Linked DNA regions of Homo sapiens: regions 1, 3 and 4 are each linked to region 2. Evidence: promoter capture Hi-C in 16 types of primary human blood cells and fetal thymus (Javierre and others, 2016). All regions are on one chromosome and are shown on one strand. Each heading gives the region's core, a stretch centred on a gene start or on the middle of the fragment in contact. The rest is flanking DNA. Distances are from core to core; before and after follow the strand shown. Region 1 holds the start of GZF1 (GDNF inducible zinc finger protein 1). Region 2 holds the start of RALGAPA2 (Ral GTPase activating protein catalytic subunit alpha 2). Region 3 holds the start of ZNF133 (zinc finger protein 133). Region 4 holds the start of PET117 (PET117 cytochrome c oxidase chaperone).

Evidence for each region. Contacts are between HindIII fragments. The CHiCAGO score rates a contact against its expected background, and 5 or more counts as called.
Region 1: a contact is called between the fragment with the promoter of GZF1 here and the fragment with the promoter of RALGAPA2 in region 2, in 1 of 17 cell types (neutrophils). The highest score is 6.3, in neutrophils.
Region 3: a contact is called between the fragment with the promoter of ZNF133 here and the fragment with the promoter of RALGAPA2 in region 2, in 2 of 17 cell types (fetal thymus and naive CD4 T cells). The highest score is 8.9, in fetal thymus.
Region 4: the fragment with the promoter of PET117 here is called in contact with the fragment with the promoter of RALGAPA2 in region 2 in 1 of 17 cell types (activated CD4 T cells); the score reaches 7.2 in activated CD4 T cells.

The regions. Positions count from the first base shown.
Region 1 is chr20:23,360,412-23,363,723 of GRCh38, reverse strand. It overlaps GZF1 (GDNF inducible zinc finger protein 1), which reads right to left and starts at 1,542. Exons shown (of 6, transcript NM_022482.5): 1 at 1,487-1,542. RefSeq lists enhancers at 1-2, 1,817-2,076 and silencers at 1,257-1,746, 2,167-2,256. The HindIII fragment of the contact is 6,657 bases long and covers 1-2,264 here.
Region 2 is chr20:20,711,257-20,714,280 of GRCh38, reverse strand. RALGAPA2 (Ral GTPase activating protein catalytic subunit alpha 2) reads left to right here and starts at 1,637. Exons shown (of 40, transcript NM_020343.4): 1 at 1,637-1,906. The coding sequence starts at 1,801. RefSeq lists enhancers at 1,177-1,376, 1,201-1,495 and a silencer at 1,487-1,746. The HindIII fragment of the contact is 11,955 bases long and covers 1-3,024 here.
Region 3 is chr20:18,287,176-18,290,150 of GRCh38, reverse strand. ZNF133 (zinc finger protein 133) reads right to left here and starts at 1,624. Exons shown (of 7, transcript NM_001352452.2): 1 at 1,547-1,624. RefSeq lists enhancers at 892-1,011, 1,572-1,911, 1,017-1,922, 2,002-2,051. The HindIII fragment of the contact is 851 bases long and covers 1,171-2,021 here.
Region 4 is chr20:18,136,167-18,139,195 of GRCh38, reverse strand. PET117 (PET117 cytochrome c oxidase chaperone) reads right to left here and starts at 1,333. Exons shown (of 2, transcript NM_001164811.2): 1 at 1,145-1,333. The coding sequence starts at 1,240. It overlaps KAT14 (lysine acetyltransferase 14), which reads right to left and starts at 1,333. Exons shown (of 11, transcript NM_001392073.1): 1 at 1,145-1,333. RefSeq lists a silencer at 845-964. The HindIII fragment of the contact is 825 bases long and covers 849-1,673 here.

The DNA of each region.
Region 1 (3,312 bases), core at 293-2,792, 2.6 Mb before region 2:
GAACCCATTTCCTCCTCTGAAGAAGGCTGACCGGCTGTTACCAGGGTTCCATGAGCCTGAAACTTGTTGGCTAGTTTATTGGTTTCCCACACATAGGCCAAGGTGCTACAGTGATCCCCATTTCATAGATGAGGACCTATCAAGGTAACAGTCAATGGCTGGTTGGGACATGAGCCAGGGCCTGGTGCCCGGATTCAACTCAGACTACTCAACACACTCTTCCCCTCAGCCTTGCCAAAGGCAAAGGGCTATCTTTAGCCCCTAAATCTTTCCACTGCAGCGGGCATGCAAATTTCACCAACCCCACCTAAGGCCTCCAGATACCGTCACCCCATCGTCATTTCTGCTGCTTTGCCACAAACTCCCTGAATGTGTTTTCTCCCTGCCCTTCAGCTCCTGAATCTACCTTCCTCTTTGATTCCTGTTTCCATCCATCCAAAGCACATGCCTTCCTTCTAGCCTCCTTCGGCCAGACCACAGATGTCACCTCGGATTCAACGTGTCTAGAAAAAAAGTTGTCATCATCTTCCCTGATAAACTAGTCCCACCCCTCTCCCCTTCTCCAGTCTCATCAATGAGACCGCTCCCCACAACTAGCAGTCCCTCAAACATGGAAAAGACTGCCCTCTGGGAGTTCCGCTGTAAACAGGTACCTATGAGGCTTGATCAATGTCGCCTGAAGGAGACGCCCCAGTAAAACTGTGAGAACACTGACAAAGCCTAAGGAAGGGATCTATAAGAGTGGGGCTCTTATAGAGCCACTGGGGTTTCAGTGGTCCCAGCCCCAGCCTGGGGAAACAAGACTGCAGAGGGCTCTCTCAGCCTGATGCCCTGACTTCCCCAGACCTCTGCCAACAGGGCCCTCGAGGAGACCTGATTTCTCAATCAACAAAGTGGGTTCTGAGCGCGATTTCCTATGTTGCTTGGCTACTGGAGTGCAGGCACTGGAGGTGGCGACAGGGCAGTCTGCGGCCGGTGACAGCTGCGTATCCGCCGAATCTCATTGGCATTCCGGCCGCCTCCCAGTGCGCCCGGCATCTGCACCAACGTCGGCGGCCCCTGAATCCCCGAGGCTCACGGGGCCAGAGCCCTTCCAGGAGACGCTGCTACCCGCAGCCCAGTCCACGGCCACAAGGGCCGGGGTTTCCAGTGGGGCTTAAATCCGCCGCTGTCCTCGCCGCCCTCACGGCACCTCCCACCCTTCCCGCGCCACTTGGCCGCCCCAGCGCCCGGACGCCGCTCGGCCACTCCAAAGACGACCCAGAGAACAAACTACTGCAGCCACAGAGAAGCCCCTCCTCGGCCCGACGCGCCGCCTCCCGACGCGGGCATCCGGGGCCGCGTGGATCAGGCCCTCGGGCCGCCCCCTGCCCCCGCTCCCGCATCCCCGAGACGCGCAGGTCCACAGAGCAGCCGGGGCGCGCGGACAAAGAGGCGGCGGCGGGCGGCGAGGGGCCGGAGCCAGGCCTACGGGCCGCGCACTCACCTCCCAGCCGGCGCCCCCGCTGCAGCCGCTGTCCGCTGGACCAGGCCGGTAGGAACGGCCGGCCCGGCTGGGCGTGGCGTAGCACCCTGCGCGGGCACCGCCGATTGGTCGCTGCAGGCCCCTCCCCTCCCGCGGCCGGCCCCGCCCCTGGCGGGGCTGAGGAAGGGGCTGAGCCACACGTCGGGCGGCGGAGCGGTTCGGGCAGTTACCTGATCTGGCCGCGCGACTGACTGGCGACGCCGGATTGCGTCACCCGCCGCATTGCGTCACCCGCCGCGAGCCAAGGCCTGCGCCTGCGCAGGAGACAGCGACGTCTGCGCTGCGGCACGCCACAGGGGGGCGGGGCCAGTCGCGAAAAGTCACGTGAGCGTCAGATTCGCGTGGTCACTTTCGCGTCCATTCCGGGCTTCTGGCCGCAAGGCGCCAGCGCTTCCGGGCCCCAGCAGCCTGCGGTCAGGGCCTGCAGCTGGCTTCCCACTAAGAGCTGCTCACGTCCCCGAGGCCGAGCGCACCCTTAGGGCACGGTGGCCACGCGAGGGACCTCGCGGAAAGCCGGGCTTGGAGCTGGTACTCACCTTGGCTACTAGGGGCGCAGATGCCTCCACGGGCGCTGGAGAACTGGCGCCAGGCGGGGCTCGGCGCGGCGCTCTCCTCTGGGGCGCTTCTTCCGCGGTGCCCCCGCCCTGCTGGGGGGCTCGGCGCGCCAGGAGCCGGGACCGCACCCTGCCGTCTTTACTGCAGGGCTTTATTTCCAGGAGTTCCCATTCGGGCGAAAGCTTTGTTCACTACAGAACTTCCCCAGAGACCCATCCACTCTTCGGGGAAAGCACAATTGATTCCCTAAGATTCGCTGACTCCTCGAAATCTTGCTGTTTCCACCAATTCTTGCTCAATACTAACTAAAGCCCGCTTTGAAACACCTTCCTTGAGTCAGACTTCCAGTTCTCAATAAACTGACCTTGCCTTTTGCTCCCAGCCATTGGTAAAGCTTTGCCAGGTCATGCTGTCCCTTACTGTGGCCAGCAGTTAACTCAGCCTTGTCTTACCGACACGTTGAGTTTGTAATGTTTGGGGACTGTCAGGACAAATACAAATTTAAAATAAGGTTTACTACTTCCTGTTGAAAATATGAGATTTCCCTCCCTTTTTCTTCGAACATTTACTTTTAGAAAATTGGTAATTAGTGTAAGTACTTTTTCCTCTCTTTGAAATATATAAATCCTTTTGAAGACTAGTTAGGCCTTTTTGTGCGCTTTATAACCTAGATATGTCTTTTTCTAGGACCTAGGAGCCATCTCTTTAAGTATCAAGGGAGTTAATGCCCCTGTCTCCCAGTTTTAATGGGGGAGTAGGAGCCTAACTTCAGTGGGCCCTTTGCTCCAACTTACAAAATTATCTCATATCATAAAGATACAAGTTTCTTTTTCCTCTAGATAAAGCCAATTGGCTAACACAGAGGATCATCCCAAATATCAGGTTAGATGAACTGTGTGTGATGAAAAATGCTGCCAAGTTCCCTTGAGAGCTAGTTATTGTTTATCTTGAAAATGTGTGTAATAGATTGCTTGGCTGCACAAAAGAGTGAGATTTCGTTCTGTCTTTGCAGTCTCTTAATGGATTGCCTGTGATGGGTATCACATTCTAGTTTAATGCTTATTCAATTACAAAGTGTTTTCTTTCTCCACTACCTTTCTGAAGAGGGTTGGGAGATTGTACTTTTAATTATATTTCCTGAACAGGAGCCAGCTTCCCACACATAGTAGGTGCTCAATAAATATTTGAAGAATGAATGAGTGACAGAAATCTTTCTTAGGCCGACTCTCTAT
Region 2 (3,024 bases), core at 388-2,887:
GTGAACATTGTGGTTTACTATGTGTAATCAGGTACAAGCTCAATTGCTGTAACGAAGACTCTCAAAATGCCTTGACTTAAGATAAGACATTATTTTGCTCTCTTGTTACACTTTTAGAAGTTTGTGGTCCTGATCTGTTATCATCTGGGGACTCAGGCTGGTAGGGCCGCTCTGCCATCATCTTGAGCATGGGGCTTTCATCTCCGGGTCTGAGAGTGATCCATGTTATTGGGTTTATCAGTAGTCTGTTCTTTTTTATTGCTGAGTAATATTCCTTTGTATGAATGTGTCTATACAAAGGAATATTACACAAATCTAAAAATAGAGAGACGCTCTAAAACTGTGAGTTTATTTATTTATTTTTTCCTTTTCGCCTGCCTGGTTGAAATATGTAGGACTACTTTAGCTTTTTATTGTATTTCATTTAATAAACTTTTATTGAGTGACCCTATGGGCCAAATACTGTGCTGAGGGATGGGGATACAAAGGCGTGTAAATCCTTGTCTCTTCCCTCAAGTTACAGTTCAGCTAGAGGAGAAAAAGACAGTTGTGTTGTCCCAATTTGGATGGAAACCACGTGATTCTACCTTAAGTACTTGCTGAAAAAGCTGAAAGGATGTCAAAACTTGCAGGATTCGGATGCCACTATACAATCCTACAGTGTAAGAAATCTCCTGACCATCTTTCAGCTCAAAGTCTTGCCCCAGGGAATAAGCGCCTGGCTTTAAAAAGTATACAGGCCTGAGTCAGATCCCTCAGGTTCTATTTCTGGTTCTGCTACTGGATCGCCATGTGGCTTGCACAACAGAGAACGCACCCTTCCTACAAAGAGGCAAGATCCCAAGGAGCCCTCTGAGCGAGCGACCTCCATACCCCAAGTGAGGTTGGGTTCCAGGAACCTAGGGGCCGGCTGAACTCCTCACCGGGGCACGCTCTTCCCTAGTGCCAAAGCAACTCATTTTAGTGTGAAATTAGAGCTGCGATTTCGGCACGGTCAGAGGGGCTTCGACTCGCTCCCTTGTGTGAATCCAGAAGCTAAACCTAAAAATAGTTTGCATTTGAAAAGCCTTGACACTTTTCTTACTGAGATTTTTGGGCGTGTGTGGTTCACGTTGCACTAGAGGAAAATGGGGTGGGCGCGCAGGAGGGAGAGTGAAACCACGGGCGATCTAGGCTGCCGGGGCAGGGGACGGACAGAGGCCGCCCTGCGCTTCTGCGACCCTGGAAAAGAGGTCGCAGCGCGTCGCCTGCTGGAGAACTTCATTTCCCAGGAGCACTTGCGGCCCGCGGCAGGGCGGGGCGACGTGCCCAATGCCGGCCCACTGACTCCCATCGTGCCGAAGACCGCCAGCCTGATTGGAGGACTGTCTCGCGGTGCATCTCGGGACTTGTAGTACAACGTGTGCGTGAGAGAAGCTCCTTTGTGATTCGAGGCGCCTTCTCGGCCCTCTGAGCGCGTCCCCGCTAGGTTTTGGCGCGGACGGGCTAGTGTCCCGCCAGGAGAGTTCGGCCTGTGTGCGCGTGCGTAGCGCCCAAGGGGCCGGCCGGCACCTCCCGCGGGGCGGGGCCTTCGGTTCCCCGTCGACACCGCCTTCCTGCCCCGCCCCTCGCCGTGACCGGCCCGCCCCTCCTTCCTGGAGACACAGCTGAGGCGGCGGCGGCGGCGGCGGCGGCGGCAGCAGCGGGGCTGGGGGCGGCGAGTGGCCCGCGCGACACGCGCCGGCCTCGACCCTATGCTTTGATTCGCGTGGCGCAGGCGCCTACTGCCCCGCCGGCGGGGCCCGGGCTTCCTGCCGCGGGATGTTCTCCCGAAGGAGCCACGGGGATGTGAAGAAGTCCACCCAGAAGGTGCTGGACCCGAAGAAGGACGTGCTGACCCGCCTGAAGCACCTGCGGGCGCTGCTGGGTGAGGCGCGCGCCGGGCGCGGGGGTCGGGGCGCCGGGTTAGGGGCACCTGCCGGGAGGGCGCTCCTCTGTGCAGGGGTCGGTGGCTGGGAGGCTGGGGAGGGGGATGGGTGGGCGTCCGACCCCCTTCCCTGGATCTGGGCTTGGACCCCCGGGGCTTTGTTTCCAGAAAGCCGCAGCCTGGCCCTCGGGCACTGCTCCCGTCGCCCTCGAGTTAAACTTAGCCCAGATTCTCGCTGGGCGCCTGCGCTCCCGGAGAACCTGGAGGCCGGGCACAGAGGTACCTGTCCCCTGTCCTCCCAGCAAGTGAACTGGATCCCAAGTGGTCATCACGTGCACACATTGAACTGTCACCTCCCCCTTTCATTTTTAAAATTTTATTTTTGAGTCTGAGACCCTAAGTAGACCGAGACCCCAAGTGAACCCAGCACAGACCTAATTGGGCTCTCATCTCTGTCATCCCCCTTTTAAATTTTATTTTTACTTTTGAGTGTGAGACCCCCATATAGACCGAGATTCCAGGCGATCCCAGCACAGATTTGTCATCTGTCTTCCCATGCTGCTTTTTAAATTTAATTTTTATTTTGGGTCTGGCTGCTTCAGTTTCTTTGTGTCCTTGGTGTGAAGGGGCCTTCTCTTCCTGCTTGGAGAGAGGGGTGGTTTTCTTGGGTTCAGGGAGGCTGCTTCTCCTTTATTACCGGCATGACAGTGATGCTGTCTGCCACCTTCTGGTTTATGGCCTGCCAGGTGGAGGTTCTGAGGAGCTCAGGTGGGCTTGGAGTTGACCTGTGATGAAGCTCGCCCCTGTGGGTGTGAGGTGTCCACAAGGCTTCCTGTCACCTGCTGCATGTGATCTGTAGCTGGTTCGCCTAGGCTATGTTTTGTTTTCTGTATTTTTTTACATCCTAAGTCTTAACTTTTCTTTGGGATGAAAACACCTTTGCTATCTATAGACACACTTACCTGTGTATTTGGTGGCGAAGGAAAGAACACCTTATGTTTCTTCCAGGTGTCTTTTAGTCCCAAAATTCACAAAAATCGCCTAGTGCTAATGTGTCTGTCACTTGAAAGAATATTGCATAAAATGATTTAACGTGTGAAGATTTTAAATAAAGATCT
Region 3 (2,975 bases), core at 375-2,874, 2.4 Mb after region 2:
TGTAGAACACAGACGTCAAAGCTGAGCAAAAGAAACCCACTCATGGTTCGAAATGCAAAAGGTAAGTGGCACCCACCTGAAGCTGGGCTGTCAGGAGCTCAGGAGTACCCCCTTTCCCCAGCAGGCAGTCCTCTCTGGGCAGACAGGAGCCACAGGGAGGCAGAACAAGAACAAAAAGCGTTCAAGAAAATCAAGGGAAATCCTCTCCAGCAGGGCAGTACCTCCTATTCCTTAACAGCATCAGGAATGAACCTGCCACAGAAGAAAAGGAGAAAAGAACTGCGGGCAGCTTCCTGGGAACACAGCTGGGGTACAGGTTGAAAGCACGACCTGCCCTGATATGCTGTTGACGCTGAGCATGAAGCGACCTTCTCTGTGCCTGTTATTAATGAAAGGTAATATTCACTGAACACTTAGTATACACCAGAGACTGTTACAGCCACTGTAGGAGTTTCACCTCATTCTATCCTTTCAACAACCCAATACGATAGATGCTATTATCCTCTTTAGGATAAAATCGAGGAAACTGAGGTACAGTGAAGTCAGCATCTTGCCCAAGGTGACACAGCTATAAAGTGACAGAGCCTAGAGGAAATGTGGCTGTGGAGACCGTGCTCTTACACAGTAAGGGCAGTGACGGTGAACTCTGGATTGCAAGGATTCTCTGTGTCCATTCTGAGATGAATCAAGATTGGTCATAAGGTTTTAAGTGTTGAATCTGGGTGATGGAGATCTGGTCTATAGAGTTCTATCTACTTCTGGCTGTTTGAAATTTCTCCGCAATAAAAACTTAAATGGAATGTAAAATCCCAAAGCCTGGCCACACCAGGGGCCTGGGAATCCGTAATTCTTGCGATCAATGACGGTCCCTGGGACCTTTGGAAAAAACCTGTCCTGTGCGTCCCAGCCAGACTTCCTCCTCCAACGCCCGAACCCGGGGGTGACCAACCAAAGTGAAACCCTAAGATCGCGGCAAAATGGCCACCCCAGATCCAGTCTAACCTTGGCTTGTTTGGTCAAGCCAGACCGCTCCTCATTCCACTCCAGCAAAGCCGAAGAATAGTGTGGCCCCAAGAGACTAGCCCTCAACCGACCAATGCCTCGGGGACACATGGCCCCAGGGATGGTTCCCATTCCACCACCTGGGAAATACCATTCCCCCAAAAAGCTTATTTATTCAACTCCCCCAAAACCGGGGACTTATGGCATCAGCGACTCCCTTTCCCAATACCCGACTTCAGCCAAAGCCGAACCTGTCCCCACCCACAAGAACCCTAGGAGAGAGAGCCCGATCCCCCACTCATCACCATCCAGTTTCACGGATGGGCTTCACCCAACTCCCCTGGAGATGCACGCCCACACCCCCAAAATAAGACATCTGGGAGAGGACGGCCTGCGCCACGCCAGCGCGTTCCCACCACAATCACCACCCCCGCGCCACCCGCACGGTCCCCAAATTCAGCCCATAGTCCAGCCTTTCGGGACCTTCCTTTTCGCGCAGAAAAGGGTACGGCTGCGGCAAGGGTCCCGCGGGAGCCTCACTCACCAGCGCCACCAAAGAACAAGGGGTCGCTCCAGCCACCAGCTGGGGAGCTCCTCCAGCGGGGCGCCAGGACTACACTACCCCGAATCCTCGGCACAGCGCCCGGACCACACCTCCCAGGATGCTCGGCGCCACCAGGCGCGCCCTGAAGGCCGGCAGCTCCCATTGGCCTCTGACGGATCCGTTTCTGAGTAACACGCTCCGGTCACCGGAGAATGGCCACTGTGGCACCTGAATTCTCCCTCTTTTTTCTTAACCACGTGCATAAAACACGTAGGAGCTCCCGAGAAGAGTGCCTGGCCCTACTGTGACCCTCCTTCTGAGCGCCTCTGTCTCGAAAACTACACTTCCCAGTGACCCCTGGAGCGACTTCCGCACCCGGTACCGGCCCCGCCCCTTGGCGCGCGGAAATGACGTTTCGGGGCGCATCTGTTCGGCTTCTGGGGTTGGCGGAGGTGTACCGCTGGCTGACCAAGCTTGTTCAGGTGCTGGTTTGTGTTGCAGCGGCCTGTGGTCTCCCTGGCTCCAGCCGCCTGCTTGGAAAGTCACGCCCCATATTCCTAAACACCGGGCGAACGTCATGTCGTATACCCTTTAGCTCCATTTAAAGCCTTGAAAAGGCCGAGCAGTCTGCCTGAAGTCTCACATCCCGTACGAGGTAGACCCGATTCTGAGCCCACGCCCTCAACCCGAATACACCTTTTCCGGTGCCCTGAGACCTTTTTCTTCTTTTTGAAATCCACGAAGTTATTGTTAAACTCTCATCTCCTGAGAAGCAGAAGCCTCAGTCTCGGGCCAGAGCTTGGCCTGCCGTCGGCTTGGATCTCTAGGTCTTTGTCCGGGATCCTGGTTGAGAACAAGATTGCGCTGGTGCCATCTGGGACGCCCCATCTGGGGAGCTCGAGGGGAAGGCCCACGTCACTCTTGAGAGGGCTTTTCCACCCGTGCACCCTCTCACTGCCCTTCACCTTCCTCAGATAGGCTTTCTGAAACTTTGTCATTCTCTTGGAAGACCAAGAAAATGACCACTGTCTGAAGGGCCAGGGAGATGAGAATTTCCTAAAATTCTTTTGTAGCTCTCAGAGGGTGAATCCATTCCCTTCTGGTACCCCGAGGCTACATTATTTATTGTGAATTCAGTTCAGTCCTGGCTCCGGAGACATGTCCAGTGTCAATTGGATTCATCCCTCAACATCATTCTCTGCCTCATGAGTCAGTCATCACCAAGAAATTAGTTGTTAATACACATAAAGGTTCAGAACAACAATGCAGGGATGCCTGTGTTCAAGTGTTCACTTGTGCTGGCTGTACAATAAAGACACAGATGGCTGACATCTCTTAAGCCTGGAAATGAAGACTTACAGGATGAGGTGCTGCCTGAGGAATTAGGCAAGATGAGGAGTTGGAAGAACACAGACGAGTAAGGAAGAGT
Region 4 (3,029 bases), core at 84-2,583, 2.6 Mb after region 2:
CTTTCATTGTTAAGTCATCTCAACCCCTCGTCAAAATTCTTGTACCATCACATGCTTCCTCTCTTCTAATTTCCACAGTCTGTGAACACCAAGAACAAAGACCTCATCCACTTCATCTCTGTATATCAAGCACATAGCACAGTCCAAAGGTCTGGGTAGGCAAATCAAGAAAAGACTGTTTACTCTTGATTCATCCAGTCCATTATTTTCACCCTTGGTGAACTAGGTTCAACCCCAATCACTGCCAAGTTGTTTTCTGAAAATTCACCAATGACCCTGTTCTCAGCAAGGTCGTGAATCACTGATAGACTCTGGAAGAGTGGAGTTTCCTTATCTTTGTATTCCCAAGGTGCTTAGTGAGGTAGCTTCCACACAGTAATCACCCATTAAAGGTCTGTCAACTTGAATAAGAAAGAAAATATGAACTGAGAGGACAGAATAGTCACTGCTGATCAGCAGGTCACGGATATTTCCTGAAATAAAAGTACCAAAAAAAAAAATCTGGAGACTGTTATCTCTATCGTTCCCAGATTCTAGTTTCCATAGCAAACTGTTCATTTAAACGAGAAGTGCAAACATCTCACCAAATTATCTTGGTCAAAGGCATGGAGAGTGAGTACGGGGAAGGGGGGCTCCCTTACCATGGGATAAAATCAATAGCACGTAAAACACATTAGGCTTTAACCCCAACCTTGGGCCAGGAGGGAGGCTGGTAGCTTGCAGAATGCACCCCAAGAAACTCCTTCCCCACCTTCTATTTTCTAGCGGCCCAAGTGAGATGTGGAAAGGTCCGCACCCTGCGGGCCGGCTGTGACTTGAAAACAGAGCCACTGGGCACCCCAAAAGCTTGCGTGCCGTGCCTGTGCGGAGCAAGGCCCCTTCAGCGCGGAGCTCCAAAGGCGCTAAGCCGGGCAGCCGGGTCGTCCTGAATCTGCGGGCTGCACACGCCCGCCGGGAGCTGCAGCGCCCGGAGCCCAGCAGAGCGGCCGCCGGCCGCAGCCGCAAACGCGTGGGGTGCAGGGCCGCGCCACCGCGGGGGAAAGACACGAAGAGGAGCTGAGGAACCGAGCGGGCAGAGACCACGAGAGGCCCCAGGTCGACGCCGCGCGCGCGGGCCCGGAAGAGACGGTCACGTGACACCGACCTGCTGGTCCCACTGCTGCTTCACATGTACGCCGGCCACTGTGGCCGCCGTCAGCAGCACCGAGAGGCCCAGCACCACCTTCGAGCTCCTAGACATCCCCACGCTGGCGGCCGCGGCCTCTCTCTCCCGCCCGCCCGAGGCGCAGAGGCCGCCGCAGAGTGCGCACCGCCGCCTGTACTGCCCAGGCTCGACCCCTCGAGCGCAGAGCCCCAGCCGTCGCGTGCGCCGCTCGCCGCTGCCAGGCGTGAGCAATCGAGAGCCGAGCATAGAGCGGCGCCCAGGCTCTACGAACTCTTGGCTTCACTAGGGGCCTCCTGCACACCCCGCAGGCGACAGCGTTAGACCACCCCCGATTCAAATTCTAGGAGTCCCGGCCCAAACTGGCCCCGGCACCTTACCAGGGTGGAGGGTGGGGGTTCCATGCCCCTCAGTCAGTTCAGTACCAACCTCACCCCGGGCGGGGTCTGGATACCGTGCTGACCCCTCTCCCACAGACGTCCCTTCTGAGCCCCTGACTGATCCAGAAGCTTCGCCCAATACCGGCTTCGCCTAAACGCAGCCCCCTCATTGCTCCTTTGGCGGGGCAGGCGCCACCAGGAGACCGCCTCGTTAGGCAGCTTCAGAGGCGCGGGGTTCCCATCCGTGGAGTTTTTGCCTGAGGACCCATTATTAAACGCTGTAGTCGCGGTCACCTGGTTTCACCTTGACGCTGTGGGGCGACTGGTCAGGCTCGGATTATTATTATTATTATTATTATAATTTTGATACAGAGTCTCTGTCTATCGCCCAGGCTGGAGTGCAGTGGCGCGATCTCGGCTCACTGCAACCTTACCGGATTCAAGCGATTCTCCTGCCTCAGCCTCCCGAGAGGATTACAGGCGTGAGCCACCGCGCCTGGCCCCATGTAATCTTTGTGATCACTTTTACACCCAAGTTTCCGCGCCAGTAATACAAGGGAAATAAATGATATAAAGAAGTCTTGCGTTGGGAATAGTTAAGCAATTGTGCAAGACGCATTTTCACTTCTTCCTCGGGTAAAAAAGGCAAGGCCTCCCAGAAACTTTTAAGTATCTGATAGAGCAACCAGTGAAAACGTGTTCATCATTCAATCATTCTTTCCCACTAGAATTCACAGAGAACGAGCTTCTTCCGGTGGACACGGCTATAGGCAGTATTGATTAAGCCTCACCAGGGAGTTTTACAACATTCATTACTGTTCATAGTGCTTTGCTATTCCAGTCTCTTATGTGAGCGTAAATGGCATAAGGGGACTATTGCTCTTAAAGGTATCTTTAAAGATACCTTTTCCAAATGTCATTTTGTCCACAGCATTTTTTGCAGCCTAGAGAGAATGTACCACTGAATTGGAAAATGGAGTTCTTGCTGTAATGAACTTTGAGAAGAAATTCAGTTCAGGGTGTATTTGCATATTTCTCTTTAAAAATTATATTAGACTTCTTTTTATTCGTGGTATATCCTAGATATTTTCCCCTGTAAATCAGTGAGCCTTCAACAGAGCTGTATGTCCTTAGAGTGTACATCAGGGAATTAGATCAATCGCCTTTCATTTTATTGTGACTAATTTTTCAACTTGTTTTCTTGAAATGTACTCTTTTCTTTATTTTCAGGATACTAGAAGCAAAAAAAAAAGTATTCTACTTTTAAGAAATCATTTATTATTAACTGTGTCAAATAAAAAAGTGGGTTGGGGGACTGAGGGAGGTCTTGCAAAAAAAAAAAAGTATGTTTATCTGTTTAAATATTTATAAGCCTAAGCAGTATATTTTCCGTGATTATTGTCGCATAAATTACTGATTTGTGAGAGTGACTGCATATCATCAAACTGAGAAGCAACTATTTTTTTCTTTTTCTTTTCTTTTCTTCT